2 separate regions of the Homo sapiens genome follow, and region 2 is linked to region 1. The links are contacts of gene promoters, found by promoter capture Hi-C in blood cells and fetal thymus (Javierre and others, 2016). All regions are on one chromosome and are shown on one strand. The core of a region is centred on a gene start or on the middle of the fragment in contact, and the rest is flanking DNA. Distances in the headings are between cores, read along the strand shown. Region 1 holds the start of HERPUD2 (HERPUD family member 2). Region 2 holds the start of ELMO1 (engulfment and cell motility 1).

Evidence for each region. Contacts are between HindIII fragments. The CHiCAGO score rates a contact against its expected background, and 5 or more counts as called.
Region 2: a fragment that was not itself captured here is called in contact with the fragment with the promoter of HERPUD2 in region 1 in 1 of 17 cell types (activated CD4 T cells); the score reaches 5.9 in activated CD4 T cells.

Annotation. Positions count from the first base shown.
Region 1 is chr7:35,692,242-35,698,304 of GRCh38, forward strand. It overlaps HERPUD2 (HERPUD family member 2), which reads right to left and starts at 2,894. Exons shown (of 9, transcript NM_022373.5): 1 at 2,560-2,894; 2 at 1,943-2,386. The coding sequence starts at 2,089. HERPUD2-AS1 (HERPUD2 antisense RNA 1) reads left to right here and starts at 2,965. Exons shown (of 1, transcript NR_136255.1): 1 at 2,965-6,063. RefSeq lists an enhancer at 2,033-2,920 and a silencer at 2,363-2,772. The HindIII fragment of the contact is 10,108 bases long and covers 82-6,063 here.
Region 2 is chr7:37,442,924-37,448,986 of GRCh38, forward strand. ELMO1 (engulfment and cell motility 1) reads right to left here and starts at 5,941. Exons shown (of 22, transcript NM_014800.11): 1 at 5,752-5,941. RefSeq lists silencers at 5,581-5,630, 5,641-5,690. The HindIII fragment of the contact is 1,545 bases long and covers 2,453-3,997 here.

The DNA.
Region 1 (6,063 bases), core at 1,644-4,143:
TCCTGCCAAAAGCAGGCCTCTTCATGGGTAGATAAGGCAGACAGGCTTCCCACTCCCGTCTCAGGTACTTTTTTTTAAAAAAGCTTTAGAAAAAAGTCTATAAACTGCAGACTAGGTCCCTTTTGGTTTAATAGTACAATGTAAAGATCTCGCCTACGTACATACCAGAGCATATATTTGCTATGAACAGTATTATGGAAGTCTATGACTTTCAATTGACTATCCTAAAAACCTATTTTCCACTTCAAAAATGTGTGAAACTAATCATATGCAACAGGAAATCTTTTGTAATCAAGGTATTTTCAAACAGATTCTTACTCCCTGTGTAAATCTTAACTTTCAAACAAAAGATGTGAATAAACAGGGGCTCTAACTAGTTTAAGTACTTAAATTCCTCAGGGTTTTTTTTCCCTCCTACTAAAAATATTTGTATCACAAAGTACTGATAAACACAGCTAATGCCGATTAAGAGTTGTTTTTCTAAACCTCCTGTTTTTGCAATAACCGTCCTATTTCTGTGGTTCTTCTGCAAGTCTAAAAGCCTAACTAAACTTAATACTACAACACTGAAATGCTCATAATTCATTAATATCGTAATATAGATCAAGTGTCTTCCTTAACTTAGGTGCATAAAACAAGTGTTAAGTGTAGAAAGCATAGTTGCCTTCCAACAGATCCATGCTTAAATGTACCTGATGCCAAAAGTTATTTCCCACCCTAAAATCCGACCCTCTTTATTAAACAAAAGTTTTAGTAATTAAACACTACTTATTCAAGAATAAAAAATGTATACAGTGGAGAATGCGAAAGCCTCACTTTCATATACAGTACTCTACATGACGGTATACTTCTTTTCTAAACTATTCCAAGACTCCTTGATTACCAACCACGGCCTTTCAAATCTGACTTTGGGGACAGATGGAGCTGTACTGTCTATATTTTATTTATTATCTCTGCAATATCCAGTTATGATTCAGAATGGAACACAGAATGGAAAAGCCATATGAGAGGGATGCACCAAATGGTGGTGGGGTGGAGGGCAGTTCTCTTTTAAACTAATGTCCATGTATCCTCTACAGGAGAAAAATGTTGAAAGGGGTTGTGGTGAAAACGAATCTACAACTTATAATTCTTTGGTCCTTGAAACATATATAGTAACCTTGAAAGTATAATTTTTATAGGGGACACATACTTATTTCTAAGAAAAAAAAATCTTCAATTTCTGTTTAAGTTTCTGGGCCAAGTGTTGAAAGTAAAATGGAATTTTAGTGTAATAAGCAATAAAAGCTCTGATACGGGTTGTAGTGCTTTATCTTTTTTTTTTTTAAGAAAGGATATATCTCTCACTCGCATATTAGGTTGATGACTTTAAGTCCAAAGAAAGTAGTCCCTTTTCCATGCCTGCCAATTCTTTGAGACAGAGTCTCACTGTGCCACTCAGGCTGGAGGGCAGTGGTGCGATCTTGGCTCACTGCAACCTCCGCCTCCCGGGTTCAAGCGATTCTCCTGCCTCAGCCTCCTGAGTAGCTGGGATTACAAGCATGCGCCACCACGCCCAGCTAATTTTTGTATTTTCAGTAGACATAGGGTTTCACCATGTTGGTAAGGCTGGTCTCGAACTCCTGACCTCGTGATCCGCCCGCCTTGGCCTCCCAAAGTGCTGGGATTACAGGTGTGAGCCACCGCGCCCGGTCTTTGCCTGCCAATTCTTAAGTCCCTTGATATTTCTGCTTCCTCTTACTAATTAACTGAACCTCATCAGGAAAATATTAATGATGGTTCGAACACTCAGGAGACACAACCTCAGAACTCAAAATACCTCGCGGTCTACCAAAAGAGACCTATTTGATTCAAGACTGGAGGGGAGAAGCAGGAAAAAGGAGGGTACACGGCACGAAAAGCTGCTGGTCAGAGCAGCTGCCCCCAGCTTTTACACACTTACTGGTTTGCTAGGGTAAACGTTAGATAGATGCGTTTTTAGTTTCCCCACGGTCCAGTTCAAGAAGCAGCTAATAGTCTGGTCACTGTATTTCTGATTCGGTGCTTTAATGATGAGGGTCACAGGAATCTCCATCCCACTTTGGTCCATGGTGCCCCCAAAGTCAGACAGAGTCCAGAGGAGCGGCAGTTAAGCCCAAAAGAGCCGAGATGGTCACCGCCGGCGCGACTGGGATGAGGACAGAAGTGAGTTCTTAGTATTCCGTGTCCAAGTCAGTTACAAGTGCACTGGAGGATACGAAGCCCATTGCCGGTACCAAGGATGGACTGAGGTGGTGGCGACTGCGACGGTGGGGTCTGGGTGCCCGGCCGTGGAGGCAGCTCTCCCCGCCAGGTCCGGGCTCCGCCGGGCTCCGGACTGTGGAGGCCGTCGTGAGGAGAAAGGAAGCTATACGAAGGAAGGGTGGGAGGGATGAGGGCACAACGGCCGGCCCGGGGTCACTGCCCCGCCCCACCGCGACCCCCAAGCTGGAACGCAACAAGGCCCCTACGCCACGGCCCCGCGGTGCGGATCGGGGAAGCAGCTGGGCCGCTCAGGGCGGTCAGCGGGCACTGGGGTACCTGAGAGAAGGCCGCGGGGCCCGCCACCGCCGCCCTCCGCGCCCAGGCAGGGCCGCCAGCCACACCGTCCGGCCAGGCGTTTTCCGTGGCAGCCGCTCCCTTCCTGCTGCGCGGCGACCGGCACGGCCCAGCCCCGGGTCTCGCGAGGAGGCGCGGGTGAAAGGGAGAGAAGCTGACCGAAGGCGCGGCCCGGCTCTCCGCCTGACCCCTCAGTCTGGACAGCGCAGGGTGGCGGCAAGGCAGGGCTGGGCCGGGGGCGGCCCAGGCGACTACAGGTAGCAGGAGGGCGGGGACGAGAGCCGTTGCGCCACCGCTGGCGCGCCGGTTTTGTTGTTATTGCGAGGATTGTCTGGGGCCCCTTTAAGCCGGAACAGGCAGGGCGGAAGTGCGTCACCGGCGGCACGCCCCTGCACATGGACCTCCCCCGTCCCCGCCATCCCTGCCGATCCTGTTGCTGCCGCCTTCCCGCCGTGCTCGGGCTGCCCGGGACTCTAGCCGCCAGGCTTCGCGTCGCCCAGCGGCAGATCGGGCTCCTGGGAGCCTCTCCCCTGGCCGTTTGCTCGGCCTCGGCCCCAGCTGCCCTGGGGCCTAGCCACTAGCTCCCCTGGCGCTAGCCTACCCTGTCTTGACCGCACCCTGAAGATTTGGGAAGTCTTTCTCCATCCCAAGAGTCGTCTCTGCAAAAGTTGGTGTCCTTCCTGGTGCTGAACCACGCTTCTGCTCAAAATGTGTTGAGCGTCGTCTGTCTGCAAAGCACGGTGCCAGGAGCTTTGGTGGAGAAGGCATGGGGTACATGTGTAAAGAGTACAGGCTTTTGGTTAAACCTGAAGTCCTCCTCTACTTTCTGGGGGACCCTGGCCGTCCTTGCTGAGCCTCCGTTGACTTCTCTAATGGGGACGGTAATGCCTACCTGACCACAAGCTGATGAGTAAATGAGCTATGAGTGCAAAGTGTGGTGCAGTTCTGGCGTGTGCCAGCCTCTCAAGTGTCAGTTTCCGTCTCATTCCTCTTAATCTTCACTAAAATGGACAAGTATTCATTGAGCACCTAATGCGTGTTCAGTATGGTGGGAGATGAGGGATGACAGTATTATTTTTCTATTTTATAGGTTAGACATAGAACAAAAGGTTGAGTCTATTGCCCATAGCCGAACTTTTCTTCATTTTCTACTGTGGTTTAGAAGTCGGTATAGTAAGTTAAGGGTTGTTAGATGTGCATTTTCACAGCTCCCAGCTTCCACTTAGGAGTAGATAACATAGGGGACTTTGCGAGCTGGTCTCTTTCCCTCTTAGCTTCAGAAGGGCTTCGAGGTAGCCACCACTGAATTAGTTGAGAGACAAGGCACCCCTACGGAGGAAATCTCAACTGCACAACCCCTACTGTGCCCCAATTCAGCAGGAAGCAGTTAGAGCGGTGGTCAAACCTCCCCAATAGCACTTGGGTTTTCCTGTTGAGAGGGGGTACTGAGAGACAGGACTAGTTGGATTTCCTAGGCTGGCTAAGAATCCCTAAGCCTAGCTGGGAAATTGACCACGTCCACCTTTAAACACGGGGCTTGCAATTTAGCTCACACCCGACCAATCAGGTAGTAAAGAGAGCTCACTAAAATGCTAATTAGGGAAAAACAGGAGGTAAAGAAGTAGCCAATCATCTATCGCCTGAGAGCACAACAGGAGGGACAATGATCAGGATATAAACCCAGGCATTCAAGCCAGCGGTGGCTACCCTCTTTGGGTCCCCTCCCTTTGTATGGAAGCTCTGTTTTCACTCTATTAAATCTTGCAATTGCACACTTTTCTGGTACGTGTGTGTCACAGCTCAAGCTGAGCTTTCGCTCACCGTCCACCACTGCTGTCTGCCGCTGTCACAGACCCACAGCTGACTTCCATCCCTCTGGATCCAGCGAGGCGCCCATTGCTGCTCCTGATCGGGCTAAAGGCTTGCCCTTGTTCCTGCAGGGCTAAGTGCCCAGGTTCGTCCTAATCTAGCTAAACACTAGTCACTGGGTTCCACGATTCTCTTCCATGACCCACAGCTTCTAATAGAGCTATAACACTCGCCGCTTGGCCCAAGATTCCATTCCTTGGAATCCATGAGGCCAAGAACCCCAGGTCAGAGAACACAAGACTTGCCACCATCTCGGAAGTGGCCCGTCACCATCTTGGAAGCGACCTGCCACCATCTTGGGAACTTGGGGAGCAAGGACCCCCAGTAACATAGTGACCAGGAGGAAATTCTTCCTCTCAACAGCTAATGCAGCAGGATCTCTTACACCGTACCCTCCCTCACCTTGCTCTTGCTCTTCATGGTAGAACACGTACCATATCTTAGCTGTACTCTATCAACTGCGCATCTGAAGTAAAGAGTGAAGTCTTCTTTGTTTCCAGTCATGGAGCAACAACTTGCTATGATACTGGCCTTCTGTAGCTGACTCTTCTTTGTCTACCCAGGCACTCTAATGGAACTTTAATTCTAGCTAAAGTTATTTTCTCAGACTCCTTTGAAGCAAGGGGCAGCCATTTGACACACTTCAAGCCAATGAGTTGAATGTTGAACTTATTGCTGAGGCTTCTAAGAAAGCATATAGATGGAAGGGCTCTGCGAATCAGAGCTCATCTTTGCCCTACACCTGTCTTCCAGGAGGAACGTGAAGAGCTACAGCACTCATAGTTCAGTCATGAAACAACAAACAGGAGAACAATGGCCTGCATTCCAAGGATGGCAGAGCAGAAAACTGTAAAGAGGCTGGGCATTTGATGGCATTGTGGTGCCACCAGACAAGCCCTAAGCTATCTTCCCTAAGACTTCTTGTTTTGGGTCAAATTCCTGTTTAAGCCAGGAAGTTTTCACAACCTTCACCACCCAGTCCTGCAGCTGTTGTCTCATGCTTGTGACTCAGACTTCCAGGAATCCTTTAGAAGTGATGTGGTGATCTCGTTTGGCACTATGCAATGTACACTATTAATGAAGGTACCCTAATAATTATAAATATTAAGACAGAATGTGCATTTCACAGTGATTTAAACACTCTTTAACACTCTTTAAAACAGTCCATCAAAGGTTCGCTAACACAGAGAAAAACATTTAAAATTGTAATAAAGGCTGGGCGCAGTGGCTTGCCTCTAATCCCAGCACTTCAGGAGGCCGAGGCAGGCAGATTGCTTGAGCTCAGGACTTTAAGACCAGACTGGGCAACACGGAGAAACCCCGTCTCTACAAAAAAATTCAAAAATAAGCCGGGCGTGGTGGTGCACGCCTGTGTTCCCAGCTACTCTGAAGGCTGAGGTGGGAGGATTGCTTGAACCCAGAAGGTAGAGGTTGCAGTGAGCTGAGACCATACCATGCACTCCAGCCTGGGTGATAGAGTGAGACTCTGTCTCAAGAAAGAATAAAAAGTAAAAATAAAATTGTAATGAACATTCAAGAAATTGAAATATACGGGTACAAAGATGATATAGTATCAGAAAAAATGATTTTTTTTAAATTTTACAGCCACTTGAATTA
Region 2 (6,063 bases), core at 1,975-4,474, 1.8 Mb after region 1:
AAAACGAGTCAGAAAAGTTGGGTTTAAGGCTCAGATGCACTCTCTAAGTATGCTTGTGACATTTCATTCCTCCAAGCCACATCTGTAAAATGGGATAACAATACTATTCTGACTGTTCTCCATCATTTCCAAAACAGCATCCCCAGAGGAAGGGTGTGTCAGGCCACAGAGAAAAATGTCGCATTGATCCTATGACTCCACCTCCACTGAGAGAATGCTTTATAGGGCTTACCTGATTTTCATTCCCTCAAACCACCATTCCCTATCCAGAGTACAACCCACTGAACACATCTCAGTCCTTAGTCCAGCAAGTTGTGCCTCTCCAGTGTTTTCTACTGAGGAAAGTTTTGTTTTCTACCTTAACTGTTAGAACTAAAACAGTCAAAACTGTAGCCTCAATTCCTAAAATTGAAGTTCCAATAATAATTCTGTTCAGATTCTGGAAATCAGTGTTTGTGGGGGCCCGGAACACTGAGAATCGTCTCCTTCTATTTATACATGTGACTAATTTCTCGACTCAGCACTATGCCAGTTTGTTACTGTAGTTAATTCTGTTTGATGAGCTAGCATTCCTTCTCCCACACGTATTCCTATCTGATACTTAACTGTTCACCCCACCTTAGGCCAATGACCAAATTCTGCTCGTACCGTACCTGCACTTATATTGTAACAGGTTAGAAAATACAGCACTAAGACACAAGTAGTTAATGTAATCAGGAATCATGATATGGCTTTGCAGGCTTTAGTTCTGGCTAATATAGATAAGTTCCAATTGTTAACACTCAAACAACCCAAATTATCCAGGGAAATAAGCATTGCAACCAGTGTGTGCATTGTACATGCAGGCTGGCTTTGCTGAACCTAAAAATGCTGTGCTGGCATACTGGAAGGCTTTCATGGCCACACACATGGTCCTGGGAGCCACACCCTGTGGAATGACTGGCCTTCATGATCCTTTTATTATGGACAGTGCAGAAGTTCTCAGACTCTTTTTTTAAAGAGATGGGGTCTTTTTCTGTCCCCCAACCTGGAGCACCGTGGTGAGATCACAGCTCACTGCAGCCTCAGACTCCTGGACTCAAGCCATTCTCTTGCCTCAGCCTACCAAGTAGCTGGGACTACAGGTGCATGCCATCATACCCAGCTAATTTTTTAACTTTTGAGAGATGTGGTCTCGCTATGTTGCCCAGGCTGAGTTGTCAGCCTTTGACTTTCTTCTTTGGATAGCCAATCCAAGCCCAGGTCAGCTAAAATGCTTCACCTAATCATGCATCCCAGCAGTGTGGCTGCCTCCAGAAGAGATTACAACTGTCTTTGTAATTAGAATCATTCATGTGGGGAACACTAGATGTAAAATATGAAAGGAGAAGTTGAGCAGAGTAAATTTCCAAAGACCTCAAAAGTTCTAAACTAAAACTTGGTGAGAAAAGGGGATAGTCTGTCGATTTTATTCTAAGTAAGGTTAAAGAGTTATTGCAAAGGGAGCTACTGCCTTTCTGCATCACTAAAGTGAAAAGCATGTCACTTGAGTTTCTAGTTCCTCCAAGATGGCAGCATGAGGGCCTAGCGCACTGGCAAGTTCTACAAATAGTGGCATTTTTTTTTTTGAGATGGAGTCTTGCTCTGTCGCCCAGGCTGGAGTGCAGTGGCGCAATCTCAGCTCACTGTAAGCTCTGCCTCCCGGGTTCACTCAATTCTCCTACCTCAGCCTCCAGAGCAGCTGGGACTACAGGCACCCACTACCACGCCCGGCTAATTTTTTTTGTATTTTCAATAGAGACGGGGTTTCACCGCCTTAGCCAGGATGGTCTGGATCTCCTGACCTCGCAATCCACCCGCCTCGGACTCCCAAAGTGCTGGGATTAGAGGCGTGAGCCACCGCGCCCGGCCAATAGTAGCATTTTGAAAAGTTAAGTCAATAGCCGACAGAACTGCATCTGGTTCAACATTTGGAAATAGCATCTCCTGCAGGGGGTTAAACCAACAGTATTTTGTTAAAAGGAGATAGCTAAGTATTTCTTGTAGCCCTCTAGAACGTCGTCATCAGAATCCCTGGCAAGTTGGTTAAAAATGTAGTTTTCCCCAGAATTATTGAAACAGGCTTTTTAAAATCGTTACCTACACTGAGCAATACTTTGACATTAAGACTGGGTGTCTGTTTTATGAAATGCTGTTTTCCACACCACTCTTCTCTTTCACATTTTAAACTGCTGGTCTTGGCCTACTAAAGTGATATCATGATCCGCTCATGGGTTACAGCCGTAAGCTTAAAAAGCACTTCTCTGGTTGACTAGAAGGAACCAGAACTAAAGTTGCACAATTAGTAGCAAACACTCCAGGCTTTGTGATGCAGAGAGGGTTTCTTAATCCACCACGTTTTCCAGATTCAACAGAATGTCTTATAAACCAAACTATCTACTTGGATGGTTTCAGGCACCAAAAAGTGGTTACAAGCTTGAGTTACAAACCTTAATTGTATCCACTGTCTTAGATCTGGAAGGGAAATGTTACCTCCATAGGAATGATCACCTTTAACCCTTGAGCATTAGGCAACCTGATGAAGTAAGCACAGTGTGTGATCAGGTGAGCTCCTTGCCTCACCCCCAGCCACATCCTTCAGCAAAGGCTTCAAAGCCCTTTCCCCACCCGCCCCACCCACTCACACCAAACACCCAAAGGGGTTAAATTACTTTGAAACACTCAAGAGTTAGCTTCTTTTCAATATAGTAATTTAGTAAATGTTCAAGACTTAGCTGCACCTGCAGAACACCTTAATGTTTTCTCACTTTTATTTTTCTTCTCCTAGGCATTTCTCATCTCCCCTGCATCTGCCACACAGCCTCCCTTACAGCCTCCTGTCTTCACTTCCATATTGTAGGAGAGCAGAATGGGACACAGTAGATGCCTCTGACTTCAATCCCCTTACAATCATGCCCTTCCTCCTAGGCTAAAGCAACACAGACTTCTTTAAAAGACCTTCTCCAAGGAGAGTGATGAAACACCAGATCTGGAATGGTTATGTGTCATTAAGTGTACTGGTTATCTAATCTCCCAAGGAATCACCTCTCTGTTCCTTTCTTCAGGCAGAAAAAGGGAGGAGTCTACTCAAGGCAGAACAGAGTCTAAAAGAAGAGTGGCCTGGCATGGGGGAAAGGACAGCGAAAAAAGCAAAAGCCCATTACCTGGGCTTCTCACTTGCACTAATGCTGCAACATTTTCCTGGTATATTTCCCTGGTGGATCTCTCCCAGTATAGCCACCTCTCATTTAGTCAGTCAACAAACACTTATTGAGCACCGACATCATGCTAAGAATCCATCCAGGTTCTGGAGCTGTAAACAAGACAAGGTAGTCACTACCCTCATGGAACTTCTGCTCTAACAGGGAGAGAGACAATACTCAAAATACACCAATGACTGTATAATGCCAGGGAGTAAAAGGTACTAAGACAAAAAACTGAGTAACATAAGAGGCCCAGGGAGTGTCTGGCTGCTATTTTATATGGGGTAGCCAGGGAAGGCCCCCTATAAGCTGACAACTGGACAGAGACCTGAAAGAAGCAGGGGAAGTGAGTCATCTGGACATGTGGGAGAAAAGCTCCTCCTGTAATATCATGGGCAAAGGCCCTAGGGAGAGAACTCAGTGAAAAAGAAGAATGTAAGACGGTGAGGGTGCCTGCAGTTACCAAGGACAGTAAGCATGACCATCACTAGAACTGCCCATCTTCTTGCCCAATGACTGCTCCAGGCCCTGAGTTTCCCCAGACTCCCATCCGGGTCTGCCTCCGAGCCTGCCCCTCCCTGATACCTACCATACTTCTTGTTCTCCAGTTCAGTACCCTCCTGACACAACCCCTCCCCAAGAGTCCCAGCAGTCCAGGTCATTTTCTCAAAATTTACCAACCTAATAAAAACAAACAAAACAGAGTAGAAACAAGGCAGCATGCACATTTAACCACAGCCTTCCAGAGATAGGAAATGTACAATAATAAAGAGTAAAGCTTCAAAAGGTCAGCTATAAGAAAAATTAAAAATATGTGATGTTTCTGCAGGGGATCTGGCCTCCTAACTTACCATTATTTTCCCCCAGATCTGTAAATTATGGGACATTAATGCTTGAAACAACCTTGGAAAGTAGGCATGGAGGTGAGATAATATGAGAACCCTGGCCAGAGGAGACCCCAATAATAGCTGCTGCCGGTTTTTGCAATCTCAAAGTGATTCTGAGAAGGATTATATCCCTCTATGTCCCAAAGTTGCTCGCAGGGTTTTGGTGTGTAAATACAGGTCATTAATTACTTTTATAGAAGCAAAAGAGAAACACTCAGATATTCTTCCATAGCTTCATCCCCAAGTCACTGGCAGCGCCCAACAGGAAGCCTCCGCTTCTGGAGGCCTCAACCCGTCTTAGATTATCTGAAATCTTAACCATAACGAATTAGGCCCGAATCATTCAAGGCCAGCGGTGTTGGGAAGCCCATGATCCAGCGCGGGGGGCATCCCAAATATATTCACTGAGTCTCGGGAGCCGTCCAGGGACTCTCAGAGCTGGGTCACTACCTGGGACCAAGCCTGAGGCTGGTCCTTTAGGTCAAGGCAGGTCCCGACCCGCCTCCAACTTCAAATGGCCCCCTAGGCGGGAGAGGGTCACTGGGCGGGGAGTTCCTGGCTGTGCGGTCACACACACACACACCGACTCACACACACACCCACAACACCCCCCCCACACACACACACTCACACACACACCGACGACACACCACACACACATACATACGCGCGCGCGCACACACCACACACACACACACACACACACACACACACACACGCCGCCTCGCGCGCGCTCGCGGCACAGCACCGACTTCCCAACCCCAAACACACGCGCGCACCCCCGGGACAGCTGAGTTCTGTATTTCCTCTTCCTCAAAGCGACTCCGGCGATCGCAGTCGCCACTCTCCGCTCCGATTCCCGGGCCCCCTGGCATGCCGCCGCCCCCTTCTCTGAAGGCGCGCCCGGTGCGTCCCCTCTCCGAAGCCGAGATTTCCACGAAGCTCCACAAAGCTCCCCGCCGCCTCTCTCGGTCTCGGCGGAGACCCCGGTGTGTCCCCGGGAGGAGAGTATTTACTAACCAGAACCTCAGGGGCTCCCGGCTGCCCAGACCGCCCTCTCCGGCCCTCCTGGCCCCCATTCCTCTGGCCCATCACCGCCCCCTCCCACGAGCGCGCTCGCCGGGGGATTCCCTCCCATCCCCGAGTGCAGGAGAAGACGCCGAGTCTGAGCCGCAGCCGCTTCTCTAGCTCTATAGGAATCTTGACTCCAAGATCCCAGCCCCACATCCCCCGTCCCCAGTAACCCCGCGCCAGCGTCGCAACCCTCCCGCGCCCCCCCTCCCGCAGACCCTGGTCGAAATGTCTCGGCGGGCTCCCGGGCCCCGGGCCCTGCGCTTCATCCGCGGGCGCCGCACCTCCAGCGCCCCCTCCCTCCGCTCCCACTCCCACTCCCGCCATCCCCGGAGCTCAGACTTCCCCAACTGCAGAGCGCCCCGACGCGCCCGCAGCCCTCACCCTGCCGAGCGCGGCGGCCACCCCCGCCCGAGCCGCGGCGCCCCCAGGGAGGAAACAAAAGTGTCTCCGCGGCGCCCGGAGTCCCCCGGAGCAGGACGCCTCCTCCCGGCCCCAGTCCCGGCCCCCTCCCCTGCCGCGCCGAGGTCAGCGAGTCGGGGCGCGGCGCCAGCCCAGGAAACTTTACGAACCTGCTTGGGGTCGCAGGACAGCAGCGGCAAGGGTTCCCGGCGATCAGAGCTCCGGCGACCCGCCACCATTGAAGGGGAACTGGAGGCTCTGTCGCCCAGCGTGGGGCCGCGGCGGCGTGGGTGGCTCTGCCTCTATCCTGTGCCCATCCTCGCCCGCTCCCGCTCGCCCCAGCACACGCACTTACACTCTGGGTCGGCCGGCTGCTGCACCGCCGGCTGCCGCTGCTCTCACTTCCTCTTCCTTCCTCCTGCTGGCCAGAGACACATTTTGCATCTGCAAGGCATCCGGAGATCAGCCGCGAACTCTCCTCC